Linked DNA regions of Homo sapiens: region 1 is linked to region 2. Evidence: promoter capture Hi-C in human tissues and cell types (Jung and others, 2019). All regions are on one chromosome and are shown on one strand. Each heading gives the region's core, a stretch centred on a gene start or on the middle of the fragment in contact. The rest is flanking DNA. Distances are from core to core; before and after follow the strand shown. Region 1 holds the start of LOC124900404 (a long non-coding RNA gene). Region 2 holds the start of SNX7 (sorting nexin 7).

The links. Contacts are between HindIII fragments. The study calls those that stand out against the background at their distance.
Region 1: a fragment that was not itself captured here is called in contact with the fragment with the promoter of SNX7 in region 2 in 1 of the 25 tissues and cell types used here (dorsolateral prefrontal cortex).

Annotation. Positions count from the first base shown.
Region 1 is chr1:98,052,849-98,059,921 of GRCh38, reverse strand. LOC124900404 (a long non-coding RNA gene) reads right to left here and starts at 5,543. Exons shown (of 2, transcript XR_007066241.1): 1 at 5,419-5,543. RefSeq lists a silencer at 5,442-5,701. The HindIII fragment of the contact is 3,202 bases long and covers 905-4,106 here.
Region 2 is chr1:98,659,805-98,666,554 of GRCh38, reverse strand. SNX7 (sorting nexin 7) reads right to left here and starts at 4,834. Exons shown (of 9, transcript NM_015976.5): 1 at 4,644-4,834. The coding sequence starts at 4,823. It overlaps SNX7-DT (SNX7 divergent transcript), which reads left to right and starts at 5,783. Exons shown (of 1, transcript NR_189290.1): 1 at 5,783-6,248. RefSeq lists silencers at 4,453-4,522, 4,753-4,872, 4,893-5,032. The HindIII fragment of the contact is 3,254 bases long and covers 2,672-5,925 here.

The DNA.
Region 1 (7,073 bases), core at 1,256-3,755, 600 kb after region 2:
GTATATTAAATGGGAAAAGCTGCTCAGTTATTAGAAGTCAGTTACAGAGGGTACTCTAGCATGTGATATCATCTACTCTGAGGAATGCAAAGTGCAGGGAAGGGGGGAGCAGCATGACTCTATATTGTGTGTGGACTCACGATGCTGTCAGAGTGTCAGCAGGATGAACAATGAAAAGGATGTTAACTAAATTTTGATGTGCAAGAACATGTGTTTAATTTGCAAGATGCTTTGTTTAATTAAAAGGTAAATACCATTTACAATTCCTCTTGCAGACAAATTTAGAGCTGCAACAACACCTACAGTGTTCAAATTGCCAGCAGAATTTCCTGGATGCATTTGATCAATTAAAAGGGTACACATTTGGGGAAAAATAATTATTTTGTTCCATTTGTTTTCAAATAGAAATGGCTTTATTTTCCATAAACAGATTATTCCTAGAATTTAATGCCTAGCTAAGTATGGATTCAAAGATCCAAAAACCATATTATTATGTACCTGGTGCAGAGCAAACATATCTGAAGGCTAAAAGTTTCTCTTGTCACTCAACCTCCATCTCAAATAGGATTTGTTTTCCTCTTTCTGTCTGTCTGCTTTTCTTTTTTTAGCAGGTTAGCTCCAAAAGGAATGTGGGTCACAAAGACCCTTTCACCCCTTCAGAAAGATAACCTCATTCACATTATTTGGGAGCTTCAACATAATTATTCCGTAAACTCTGTCCAATCTTAAGGCAGATCGAAAAGATCTCAGATCTCATGTTTTCCTTTATTTAAGATTTGCTACTTTTTTCAGTGACCATGGTGGGAGAGGATGCTATTAGTTCTTCAGCCGGCCTCAGGGCAAAAAAAAGTTGAAAAAGACCCAGACTTCTTTACTTACAACTTCTAATCTCCATAATACAGGTAGTAGAGATAACAATTCGACCACATTTCTGCAATTCAACACTTCCTATAGTTGTAGCTTGGTTTCAGATATGCTTGGAGGCAGGAAATATACCAGTGACTCTCCAGAGAATCCAACTTAATCATTTACCTGGTTGATACCACCACATGACATCTGACAACATGAAAGAGAAATTCTGCAAAACTTCTTCAACAGTTCACATGCAGTGAATTGGACTTGGGTGGCCCTCGCTATGTAGTAATCATCTAATAGTTTCTTTCAACCAGTCCTGCCTACATGTTTTGTGTTACATGACTAACATGTAAAATACTAAAATATGAAATAGCCAAACTATTATACTATTAACACATTATATTATAAACTATATCTGTTACATTAATATATCATCAGAACTCCAAAGAAAATAAAAATTAAACTGGCAGAAAACAGTACAAAAGAAACTTCAGTGGAGTAAATGCACTTTTCCCCCTTGTAATATCAGACAAAACCCTCCTCTCCCCTGTCCCAAATTAACAAAAGTTTCATTCTGTATATTTGCCGAGAGGGAGCTTCATTTCATTGCCAAGTCAAATACAGTAAAACACTAGGAAAAAAAAGTGCTCCTCTCAAGTGGCAAATATGGATATAAGACAATTGGCAATTGGTCCAAACCTTGATAGGCAAAAATTCTTGTGAGGAAAGTGGCAGTTTTAAGGAAGTTACTACATCCTATTCATTTGATAATTTTTCATTTCAATGCCCAGTGTATGTTCTCTTTGTAATAACCAGTTCTATTTTCTTAAAAAACACCGTTTTTAATGCATCTCACAATCACAAAACCCAAGATTTTACAGAATTGAATTATTTATACCTTTCCCTCACCAATTATTCCATTGATGAGGGAAGACTACCGTATATCATATTCTAAAAGGGAAAAGTTGAGTTAATCACAAAAACCAATTATAGTAAGCCTTGAAGCTTCTGCCTTAAACTCAAGATAGTGCTCTCTTGCTCTTTGGTTCATCTGCTAGGACAGTCTAATATACATTTGAAAATATGTCAAACATCTTGTTAAATAATTTCCTCTTCGATCTCTTTTTTATATCTTTATCCCAGCTCCTGTACAAGTCTATGTTTTCTCAAAGGCATTTAATCCCCAATTCACAGAAAGACCCTGTGAAGACTCTGGGAAACAGTCTTCCTTGGTCCATGGATGGATCATCTGAGAGGGCTCTACTTACCTGGTTAGGGTTTGCTATGACCATTTACTTCTAATTTCCAGTTGGTGATTTCATTATTTGGCGATTTCATTATTTAGTGATTCATTACTTGGTTTCATTATAAGTTCCTCAAATTTCTTTAACAGAAAAAGCAGAAGAATATCAGCATATTTTTGTCTGCTTTGAATTTTATAACCTATTAAAGGTAATTTTTAAGAAAAATGTCTTTATAAAATGTCTTTATAGCCACTGTTAAGACTGCCATTTGATTCTGTCCCACTCCACCACCAGAATATGTTTCAACAAATGAAGGCCTTTTTTCAGGATTGTTTTATTTTTCCCTCTGTTGAATTCCTAATGCCTAGAACAGTTGCCAAGTTCATGACAATAACTAGTTGTTGAATGAGTGACTGAATCTCTCACAATGAAAGAAGTAGGGACGTGATGCTGTGAGAATGCATGGGTCTTAGAGCTTGAATACAGAAAATCTGGGTTCCAGTTCCCATTCTTCCTCTTACTAGATGGGTGACCTTGAGAATTCTGTATTACCTCTCAGGACATCAACTTATTCATCAGTAAAATAACAGGGTTAGACTAGATCATTTCAAAAAGCCCTTCTTCGGGTCTAAAAATCTGTGAACGCATTTATGGTATAAATTCACACAGACAAGCAAGCTTCATTATATAACATAATAGTTCAAAACTGATATTGATACTAAGGGTTTTAATGAGAGGTGAGAAGAAAAAAAAATCCCAACTTGACAATAACAATCATATTTAAGTAAATTAAACCTTTGGAAAAATCGCAGATCCCCAGCATGACAGGAGGCCATGTGGCCAAATAATTTGCACACAAATGACCCAGAAAGCTAAGACATGGGCTGCAGCCCAATCAGTGACTTAAGGCAGTTCATCTGGTTTTCTCTGATACTTTGAGCCTTACTGAAAATGGAGGAACCCTAAAATCGTTTTTTGAAACATATTCTGGACCTGAACTACCTTTAACATAAAGGGTAAATCAATTTCCACAATTTACTTCAGTACATCATAAGTGTGTCTTAAAATGTGAATGCCAGTCAAAAATCTTTGGTCAATTAATATTGTATATATTTTTTTCTGTTAAAGTGTTCATTCCAGAGGTTTGTTTTGACATTTTTACTGTAACCATTCACCGTTGCAAAGAAGAAATATATGAATGGAGATGAAAAGCACCAAAATCTTGTTAGTGTTAAACTCCTTTGTGAACAAAAGCTAGCAGAAATAAATGTAATGTGGAATGGCTTTCCTGGAGTAGGGTAGGATGGGTCTTGGGGGGTGGAGAAGACTAAATTGGTACTGAGACGAGCCTTTCAGATATCTTTTTAACTGCTTTAACTGCTTTTCAAGCAAAGCTGATGTAGTTATTTTAGTCTTTTGCCATTTTTGTCATTTAATTCACCACTGAGAATAGCCCTATTTCCACATTTGCATCCTTTCAGTATAAAAAGGTATTCACAATTAAGGTGAAAGAAAGCTTCCTCACTGAGAAATATGGGATTCGGGCTGTTAATGATCTACTGCTTAGCATTTTCAGAAAAACCAAGGATCTTTTTGTGTTTCAGCAGTATGGTTAACTGGAATGGATATAGAACCTGGATCTGCAACTCTGGTTTTAAGGCCTGGCTATGCACTTTGCTATGGTAGCTAAATGGATTCATTCTCTCAGTTTTCTCATCTGCGAAATGGGGGTAGGGAGTTCATAACAAACATTTTAAAAAGCAAATATCTCCCTTTGATCAAATGCTTTCATTTCAGGAAAAGAAAATATTTTCTTCTTTTCTTTATGAAAAACAAGACTGAGACCTGAAATATTAGCTTAGTTACTACCAGTCTGAATCCAATACAATAAACCTGAGTTCTCAAGATATCTCTTTTACTGCCTGCTTTCAGATCCTTGCTCTTCTGCTTACCAACTGTTATAACCTTGGTCAAGTAAATAAATCTTCCCAATCCTTACTTTCCTTCTCTGTAAAATGAGAAACTATCGTAGTACCTAATCCACAGGATTGCAGTGGAAATTAAATGAGAAAATGACGATAAAGGTTGCAACACAGCACCTGGCAACGAATAAGCACTCAACACATGTTAGTTTTTATTGTTATAATTGCGATTTTATCCTCAGGAGGAGCTGCAACTCTTTACGACCTGTTCAGATCTCCTGGATTGATGAACACAGAGGAAAGATACCAGATCCCTCTTCATTTCAGCCCCATCCCCTTACTTATTAGCAGTTCAAAGATTCTGCCATCCACCTGAAAATACCAAATAAGAAAACAGACGCCATTTTAAAAGATTGTCTCGTGGATCCTGCCTAGATAGAACAAACTAATTCCGGGGACAGTAAAAAAAAAGTCCTTTGGCTTCTTTCCCCAGAAGAGTGTGTGAAGAAAGTAGAAGCAAATATTAATAGTACTGATCACTTACTAGACCTATCTATACTTATTTTTTGCCTAAGCTTTTGAATTTTTTTCTTAAAAAACTATCATTCTCCAAAGACAGTAAACATCCAGAGGCAACAGACTTTACTAAAAGTCACAATAATCATAGCATACTATGCCCATCTCTAACTCAAGGCTGCCTGAATAGAAAGAAACATTGTGATTTCTAACAACCTTTTCCTGAGAACAGAGAAGCACACAGCCTATTTCACTGTACCACTCAAAGCATATAGCCTATTTCAAGGTTAAACTAGTTTCAAAACGCCATACAAAACTAAGTCATGAATTGTCTAGATAAACAAAACAATCACTTCCCCAGTTCCATAGTGAGGGGTGGGAACACAGGAAACCTCGCAGAAATGGATAACTCTCTCTCTCTCCTCCTCAGTATAAGAATGAAAACTTTTCGGCCCATGCTAGGACTTGGGACTGAAAGTAGGATTCACACTCAGATACGGGAGGAAGGGTTAAATTAAGAGGAATCTGTCTTCCTTTACCCTCCCTCTCCCCAATTCACAGAATAATTATTGGTGTCTACAACCTGAAATATTAGTAAACATTTCCTCCAATAGCTAAGGAAATGCTTCCAGAAACATGCACATCGGTAGTGCTCTTCCAGACTGGCAAGTGTGGGTTTGAAGTGTGTGCGTGTGTGTGTGTATATATATGTGTGTGTGTGAGAGAGAGAGAGAGAGAGATTTTGATGCTTGGAAAACATATTCTAAAAAGCGGCCATAATTTCTTTTTCAGGGGGGCCCCTTTTGGCTCCTTCAGACCTCAGCCCAGAGAACCAGAGAAGGGTCAGAGACGCACGAGGGAGAGGCTGAACTCACACTTACCTTTGACCAGTAGAAGAGGTGAGAGTGGGGTTTGGCGCTTTGTTTGTTTTTGTTTTGTTTTCTGTTGCTTTTAGCACGCCCCCAGCGCCAGGGCACTGGAGGGTGGAGGCGGGTCCGGGCTGGGCAGAGCCCGCGGGGCGGAGGGGACCGAGCGGGCCGCCGCGCCTGCCGCGTCCGGCCAGCAGGGGGCTCCGGCGCTCTTCTCCGGGCGTATTGGGCTCAGCCCGCGCGGCCCGGACCTCGGGCAGGGCAGGGGATCTGGAGAAGGGAGGACCAGGGGAGGAGGGCGAGAGCTTGAGAGAGACAAACGGGGGTGAGCCGCACAGCGGGGTTCCCCAAGAGCCAGCGGAGCCTTCTCGGAGCTGCTTAAGACCTGACAAATCCTGGAGGAGCCAGGCGTTTTCGTGAACGGGGTCTGAGCCTCCGCCTTACCAAGGCTCCCGAGTCCCGCGGGGCCGTCTTGCTCCGGCCTCCAGCCCGGGGCGCCCTTGGCCCGACGGGCAGCCGTCCTTGCGAGGGCGTTAGGGAGTGAGCCGTGGTCTCTGGCCCAAACTCGGGAGGACAGCAGAGAGCTCGGCCAGGGCTGCGGGGAGAGCGATGACTCCCACGCCCCCGCGTCCGCACCAACCGCGCCTCGCGCTTCTGGAGCCGCAAAGCTCAGGCCCACTTAGAGAGGCAACGATTTGTCTATGGATGTCCTGTGTAACCACACCTTTGCTTTGGCTTCCTTTCCTCGATCTGAAATCCAAGGTGGTGGTTGATTTTTTCGCTCTCCTACTCTCCCAGAGGAGGCCCCGGTCCGAGCCAGCGCTGGCGGGCTGCGGCTGCTGAAACTAGAGTTCCTGTGGCCAGAATGGTGCCCCTTGCCCGCTCCAGGGCTTCAGAGAAGAGCGAGCCCGGCCCGGGGCTAGGGTGTCCGGCCTGCCCCGCGAAGGCGCGCTGGGCCTGGAGACTTTGCGCTCTTCACTTCGCCAGACGAGAGTTTAGCCCGGGGCCCGTCCGCGACACCTGGCCTCCGGCGGTTTTCGGGACCCTCTCTCAAAACTGCGCGAGCGCCGAGATCACTCTGGTATTAGCTCCCTTTAGATGAGGAAGGCATTGTATCTTTCTAAGGGGGTCTCTCAGACCTAAGTTATTTTGGTCTGCAGTGGTAGTAATGGCCTTGAATTTGTTTAAACTTACTGCCCACGACACCCTCTCCCCAAATCCCCCTACACCCACACAGTACGCTCCATCACGGCCACCACCACTCCCACTCCATTTGCATTTGAAAACCTCTGGAAACATAAGCGCTTTCAGGATGAACTCTCTCTCTCTCTCTCACTCTCTCTCTCTCTCACTGTCTCTCTCTCTCTCTCTCTCTCTCACACACACACACACACACACACACACACACACACAGCCCGCCAAGTGGAAACTGAGTTGAGTCATAGGATGCATATGAATAGGATTGGATGGTCCTTTGCTTCTGCGGATAAGAATGTTTAATAACCCAGGATTCCGGGCAATAACAGCATTACAGGGTTTCTAGAACTCTGTTCTGATCCTTTAGAAATTGTTAGAACAATAGTAATGATAGTAGGAGGAGAAGTAGGACTATGTTTTTCAAGGCACTTGCAAGCAATCTGCTACATCGTTTATGGGAGAACTTAAAA
Region 2 (6,750 bases), core at 3,585-6,084:
TATTTTCTGTGCCCTAGGAGGCTGGCACCTATAGATGACATCACCTTAGCAAGACCACTCAAAGAGGAGTGCAAGCAGGAGATCCAAAGGCAGGAGGAGAGGAATTCAGGGAACATACCCCTTATTTCCTCCTGCTTTGGCACGTTTCCGGCAGTAGCTACCTCTCTCTGTAAATGCAGTTCCTGAAGAAGTGTCCCCATCTCCACAGCTCCAGGTCTGACTGGTTTCCAGCAATGCTATTTCCATTTCTTGTCCCTTTAAAGCTAGGGATGCTAATAGCTTTTTCCCACTACAACTCTCTAAATGCCTCAGTATTCCTTGTTTGTTCACTAACTCTGCCAATAATTCCATAAATAGTCCCCGCATTCAACTCTCATTTAAATCATTGGAGAGAATTCTGATTTTTATCAGAGTGATGACTGATATAGGCACACAACAGAAACCAAATAGACTGTGCAGAGAATATATGTGAGAAATTAGTAAGCAGGACTTCCTAATCTTTTTCTAATTATTTGATAGAATAGATGAATAGTATAATTATGCCGCTCCATCACTATACTGAATTTCCAAATTGACAAAGAAAAAAATATATATATACATATAAAGATATGTATACATGTGTATGTTAGATGTCTCAACTTTATTCTTTCAGAAATAAACTTTTCAGCTGGGCACGGTGGCTCACGCCTGTAATCCCTGCACTTTGGGAGGCCGAGACGGGTGGATCACTTGAGGTCAGGAGTTTGAGACCAGCCTGGCCAACATGATGAAACCCTGTCTCTACTAAAAATACAAAAAATTAGCCAGGCATGGTGGCGCATGCCTGTAATCCCAGCTACTCAGGAGGCTGAGGCAGGAGAATTGCTTGAACCCGGGAGGCAGAGGTTGCAGTGAGCCAAGATTGTGCCACTGCACTCCAACCTAGATAATAAGAGCAAAACTCCATCTCAAAAAATAAACAAATAAATAAATAACCTTTTCTGAAGAAATGAGTGATTTTTTTCAAAAGCCTTGCTCAATCATGTCATTATAACTCTGATTTACCATAAACACAATCTTAAGTCTTTCATTATTCTTATAAAACTTGTAGCTTCTATTGATCATGTTTTTTTCAAAGTGTGTATAAACAACATACTAAATAATTCATTTCATGGCTTTTTTGGAGATTGAAATGAAACCTACTGTTCGCTACCTTCCAGAACTCCCATTTTGCCCATTATTTTTAAAAACAATATTTACCTATCTCTAGTTTCAGGGAACCATTATTGCATTTCATGATTTCTCAAAGATGACTAGTGGTGATGAGGATGATTACACCTGTAAGTTCCCTGATTATCCTAGATGATATATATCTCACTTTTATGATCCCGAATATCTTTAAAGAGGCCAATTAGAGCTATCATTTACTGAGTACCAGATAAGCATCTCAGTGCTTCATTGTGGCCTAATCACATACACTGTATCCACAGCTGTTTCTTTTATACAGTATTCAATAAAAATAAAGGCAATTTATTTTAATTTATTGTTTTTCCCCAAAGAGGAGGATTTTTTCCTTTAAACGTGAAGAAACTGGCCCTTTTTCTCCAGTTAAATTTTTTGGAAGCCTCATCTCATTGTGACCTAGTTCTAAAATAATTCTTAGGCTCTTGTTACCATTTGTGTATCTTTTTTATTTTTTTATTTTTACTGTTTTTGTATGATTGGTTCTGTTCTCTTCCTTCTAACATCTATCCCCGTTCTTTTAAATCAATGTCCTCTGCATTCTCTTGAGGTCTGGCATCATTTTCTTCTCACTGGATTATAAGAAAATTCAGAACAACTTTGTTTTACTTTCCATCCCTCTTGATTTATATTGCCATTTAGAGTTTGTCACATCTTCCCACCTGGAGTATAAGATTGTGATAGCAAGAACTAAATCTTGTATTTCTTTTTTTTAAAGCATACTTAACACAAAATGTATATTTGCCATGTACTTGTAATACGTTGTGGAAAAAAAATAATAAGAAGTTGTTTTGTTTTTCTTTTGAGACAGAGTCTCACTCCGTCACTCAGGTGGGAATGCAGTGGCGTGATCTCTCAGCCCACTGCAACCTCTGCATCCCGGGTTCAAGAGATTCTCCTGCCTCAGCTTCCCGGTTAGCTAGGATTAAAGGCTCCCACCACCACACCCGGCTAATTTTTATATTTTTAGTAAAGATGGGGTTTCACTATGTTGGCCAGGCTGGTTGTGAACTCCTGACTTCAAGTGATCCGCTAGCCTCAGCCTCCCAAAGTGCTGGGGAAATTCATACTCTTTAAAAAGCTTCTGGAAGAGTATACCAGACACATATTCACAAATAATCTAAGAGAATAAGGGGACTATAAAGGTGAATGTAAATTAAATATGTAGTTTGCCAATCTCAAATTACTAAAAGGGAAGGACAGTTTGCTTCATAAGTAATTGTGAGATTCCATCCTAGGATAGGCTGAACAGCAGTGGTGTTTGTTTTATAGAGGAGCAGGCAAGGAAGGTAGTGGAAAGGGAAGGCCACGTGGAGCAGGCTTTCTTAAATTTGCTTAACTACAGATAACGGTTGAGAAATTCAACTTACTGAAATGGATGAAAGTGGCTAATTTTAAACTTTTCCAACTACTCTTGTTGGATTTTCACTAATATTATATCTTTGCCTTAATCTATGTGGGCAGTTTCTACAGAAGTTGTTCTTAACTTTTTCTAAGCATCCAACACGCGCAGTTAACACTAACAAGCAGGGTGGACCCAGGTGTACGGGCTTTTAGAGTTTGGAAGGTCCCCTTTTAAAAGAATACAAAATTAGGTGGAAAAACACATTATTCAGAATGAGAAAAGAAATCTCAATAAATGATTGGAGCCATGGAGATCTAGATTCCTTAGTCTGAGAGAGCTTTAGGCAATTCACCAGAAATGCTTATTTAGAAATGCTTCTGGTCGGGACCTGTCATTTCCTTCCCACCTAGAACATCTGCGACTCCAGCAACCCCCAACACGCCCAGAGGTCTAAGCAAACGAATAGCGCTGAAGCTTCAATTTCATTAGCTTCACCTTGGATCTGCCTCTGACAAGAGGACCTCATTTAAACATTGATTCTTAAGAGTCAGCTAGAACACCTAGAATCTGGGGAAAGAGAAACCACTTGACAAGTTTAAAACAATCCGAGTCACTGTGGCTCAAGCCTGTAATCCCAAACCCTTTGGGTGCTGGAGGTGGTAGAATCCCTTGAGGCCAGATGGGTCCAGCCCCGACAAAAAAAAAAAAAAAAAAAAAAAAAAAAAAAAAAAAAAACCAGAAAGAAACCCTGATGATTCTGATACACCATTGCTATTTCCAACATCCCATCCCAAAGTTTCACAATGCATAACCATAGACTAATATTCCTTATCCAAACAGCAATGTAAAGAAGGAAAGAAAGTAAATAACCAACTGGCCAACTGTCGTTGATCTGAACATGAAGTATGTGTGGAATATAAAAAGGCAGAGTTTACAACTAAACATAAAATAATTCCATTGTTTTACTACTTAACAGAAAAGTCAAGAGCACAAAACTGTGATAGTCTGTTTAAATATTCGGAATACAAACCTGGGCCTATCATTCCATTTAAACCGAAGTAGAAATAAGTTTTATATACTCCTCTTTGGAGTCAGAGTATGCATGGTCACTTCCTAACTTTGGTTTGCTCTCCCAGAGTAAATGCGGTGGTTAAGTAGGTCGTTTGCTTTACCTAATATCTCCAGGTAACGTTAAAATGAACAGGCTTCTTAGTAATGAATACAGCGTTGTGATCTGAACTCAGGTCTTCTCTCAGCAGCAACTTGAGAAACTGGAGTGACATTCAACCTCCCTGCAAGAAAGGTATTTTTCTTTTCTAAAACCCTTTAAGAAATTACAAACACCAGTCTACACGTACCAAAAGTCTACCACTAGCCCCCACAAGTCAATTTCCCTCCAACAGTAAAATAAGCAAATAAGAGCCTTTGGTCCTAAATTTCCCGGGGGCAAGGAAAAACGAAAGCACTGGCTGTGGGTTGGGTGGCAGTAGCTGACCATCTGAAAAATCCTTAGCTCCTCAGCGGAGGAGCTTCCTGTTAGAAACAACCGTTTTCTCCTGTTCAGGGAGATTTCCTAGAACCTATTCCCACAAGACCCGAGACTCACCCAAGTCTCAAATCCACAAGCAACAACACTAAATTAAGAATAATTTCTCTAAACTTGGCTGCTCTCCCAGAGTTCAGGGCTGGCCTCGCCCGAAAAGCAGCTGGCGGGAGCGGTTTTGAGCCACCAGCCTCCCAGGTTCGGGAGCTGCCGCGAGGAAGATGTCTGTGTCAGAGAAGCAGAAAGGGAAAACAAATCACAACTTTGCAGACTCCACTAAGCCACAGCCCCGCCGAACGGAAGGTCAAAGTGCGGAGGAGGGAGCGGCTGCGGTTTGAGGCCCCGAGGCGACGCGGCCCCGGGTGCGGCCAGAGCTGGCAGGCGGGGTCCAGCAGCCCGGGGGACCTCACTCGTCCCCAGCTCAGAGCCACCGCCCCGGGAGGGCAAGCGCGCCAGAGGCAGCCGTCGGCGCAATGCTGGCAACGCCCGGAGTTGCCTTGGAAGTTTCCCGGGACTCGCCGCCGCCGCCCTCACCTTGCTGAACACCTCCAGGTCGTCCTCGTCCTCGTCCAGATCCAGCACCTCCGCCTGCAGCAGGGCGGAAGAGCCACTGCTGCCCGGAAAGGGGGCGCCGCCCCCCGGGCTCTCCCCGTTGGCGCCCCCGGCCGGGAGGCCCGAGGAGGGCGCCTGCGATGCCCGGCGCTCGCCCTCCATCCCGAGAGTGCGCGCCCAGCCGGCCGCCACCGCCGCCGCCAGCCCGGCTCCCCCGAGCGTGCCCATTGGCTCCCACGTCTCCTGCACCTCCCCGGCCGGCCCCGCTCCAGCCCCTCGCCCGCTGCGCAGACGCGGAACTGCCGGGACCAGCGCTGGCCCGGGCCGGGCGCATCCCCACCTGGCCTGGGGCGGGCTGGAGGGGCGGAACTGGGACTCTCGGACTCCGGCTACGTTGGAGAAAGGGTTGGCTGTACCCTGGAGAAGAGGAGAGACTCAAAGGTAGGAGGTGGGCGTCCTCGCATTGACCCAGTCGGGGGCCACCGAGTGACGGTTTCCGCAGTGGCGGGGTCTGGGAAGAAGCCACGAAGCGAACCGTCCACTTCGCGGGATCCACAGCGAGGCTGGAAGGCACCCGACCCAGCCTTGCCAAGAGAAAAAAAAAAAACAGCAATAACAATACTGTATTTCCTGTATTCAGTGGTTGCCTTTCTTCTTGGTTGTGATTTTCGAGCTAATGTAAAAATAAAGACATGAAAACTTCCCGTTTTGTTAATTGATTTTTGACCCAGTGACTGGCCTGTGCGGTCATTTCACTGTCGAGCCAGGAAAGCTGAGCTTTACAAACTATTTTCAGCCACTTTCAAATGCATCTTTACTCCTGGACGTCTTCCTGAAGTTAATGAGCAGAATGTTACCAAGACCCAAGGACAACTAGCAAGTCTGGAAAATTGCCACCGAGAAATAATCTTCAGTCCTTGCATTGCCAAGGCAAAGCTTTAATTATTTAACTGCTTATTATTCAAAAACAAAACTAAGTTCCAAAACTAATGGAAAATTTTGCCCACGTTGATATATTCTTTAATTTATCTTCAGGTTTTATTTACTTCCGTCAGCCCCACCTCTTTTCTGTAGGCCCATTTAAAAATTTTTAAATACATTAAGCTCTATGTAAGAATTCCTTATTTGGGGAAATAGAGAATATCTTTATTTCTGATTAGAGGCAAGGCCTTAATAATATATTATCTCCTAATCATTCAAATGTATTCCCATTGATTTCAGACGTGCACCCACCCTTCAGTCAGGTTGGTCACTGCCCCATGAGTATCCACATTTGTTTCTGTGCTTGATGATTTCTGTACTTTAAATGCCATCTCCTGCCCATCCTTCAGAAATTAAATATAGTCCCATCTCTTTCAGAAAGACTTTCTAAATGACAGTCTGTTCTCAATTTAGCATTTAATTTTATTCCATCTTGCAGATTGTATTTGTTTCATGTACAAGTTTTCCATTCCTTAGTAAATGATAACATTTTCAGGTTGAGGATCCTGATATGTATTAACCACAGTATCAGATGTACTCTCAAAATGCTCTCTGCTAATTTCTGTAAATAATATAAGTTATTAAAAGACTTTATTTTTTCCTTGATAAGCTTATTCTGACTAGTAAGGAAGATTCAAGGTTTTCTAATTGCAATCTGAACCAGGAAATTCTTAATAATGCTGTAACTCACAGAATTGCTAGAAACCATAGAGAATGGGCTCAGAAAATGGGCAGAATAAAGCAAGGCTGCACAGCTTGGATTATAGCCAAAAGCAAGGCCACAGAACCAGTGGTACAGACATTGCTGCTACCATTGCCTGATACTGGTTGCCACACCATCTTCACCAGTGTCAATATTGTCATTAACACTGATGTTACTGGACTCCAGTTGCTTTCCCTGGCAGCAGTACCACAGCTACCTCTGAGAACTTCCCTGCTATTACTGCCACAAAAATGTCTCCATCACCCTGTTTCTCTGTGTTGATTTTTCTAGTATTAAAACCCTGGAGAGTATGTGTGCTTGGCCAATCTGGCCAAGTTTCATGGAAATTCCTAAGGCAGAGAATTTTCTAAACATAGAAAGGCCATATTGATGCTTGTCAACCAA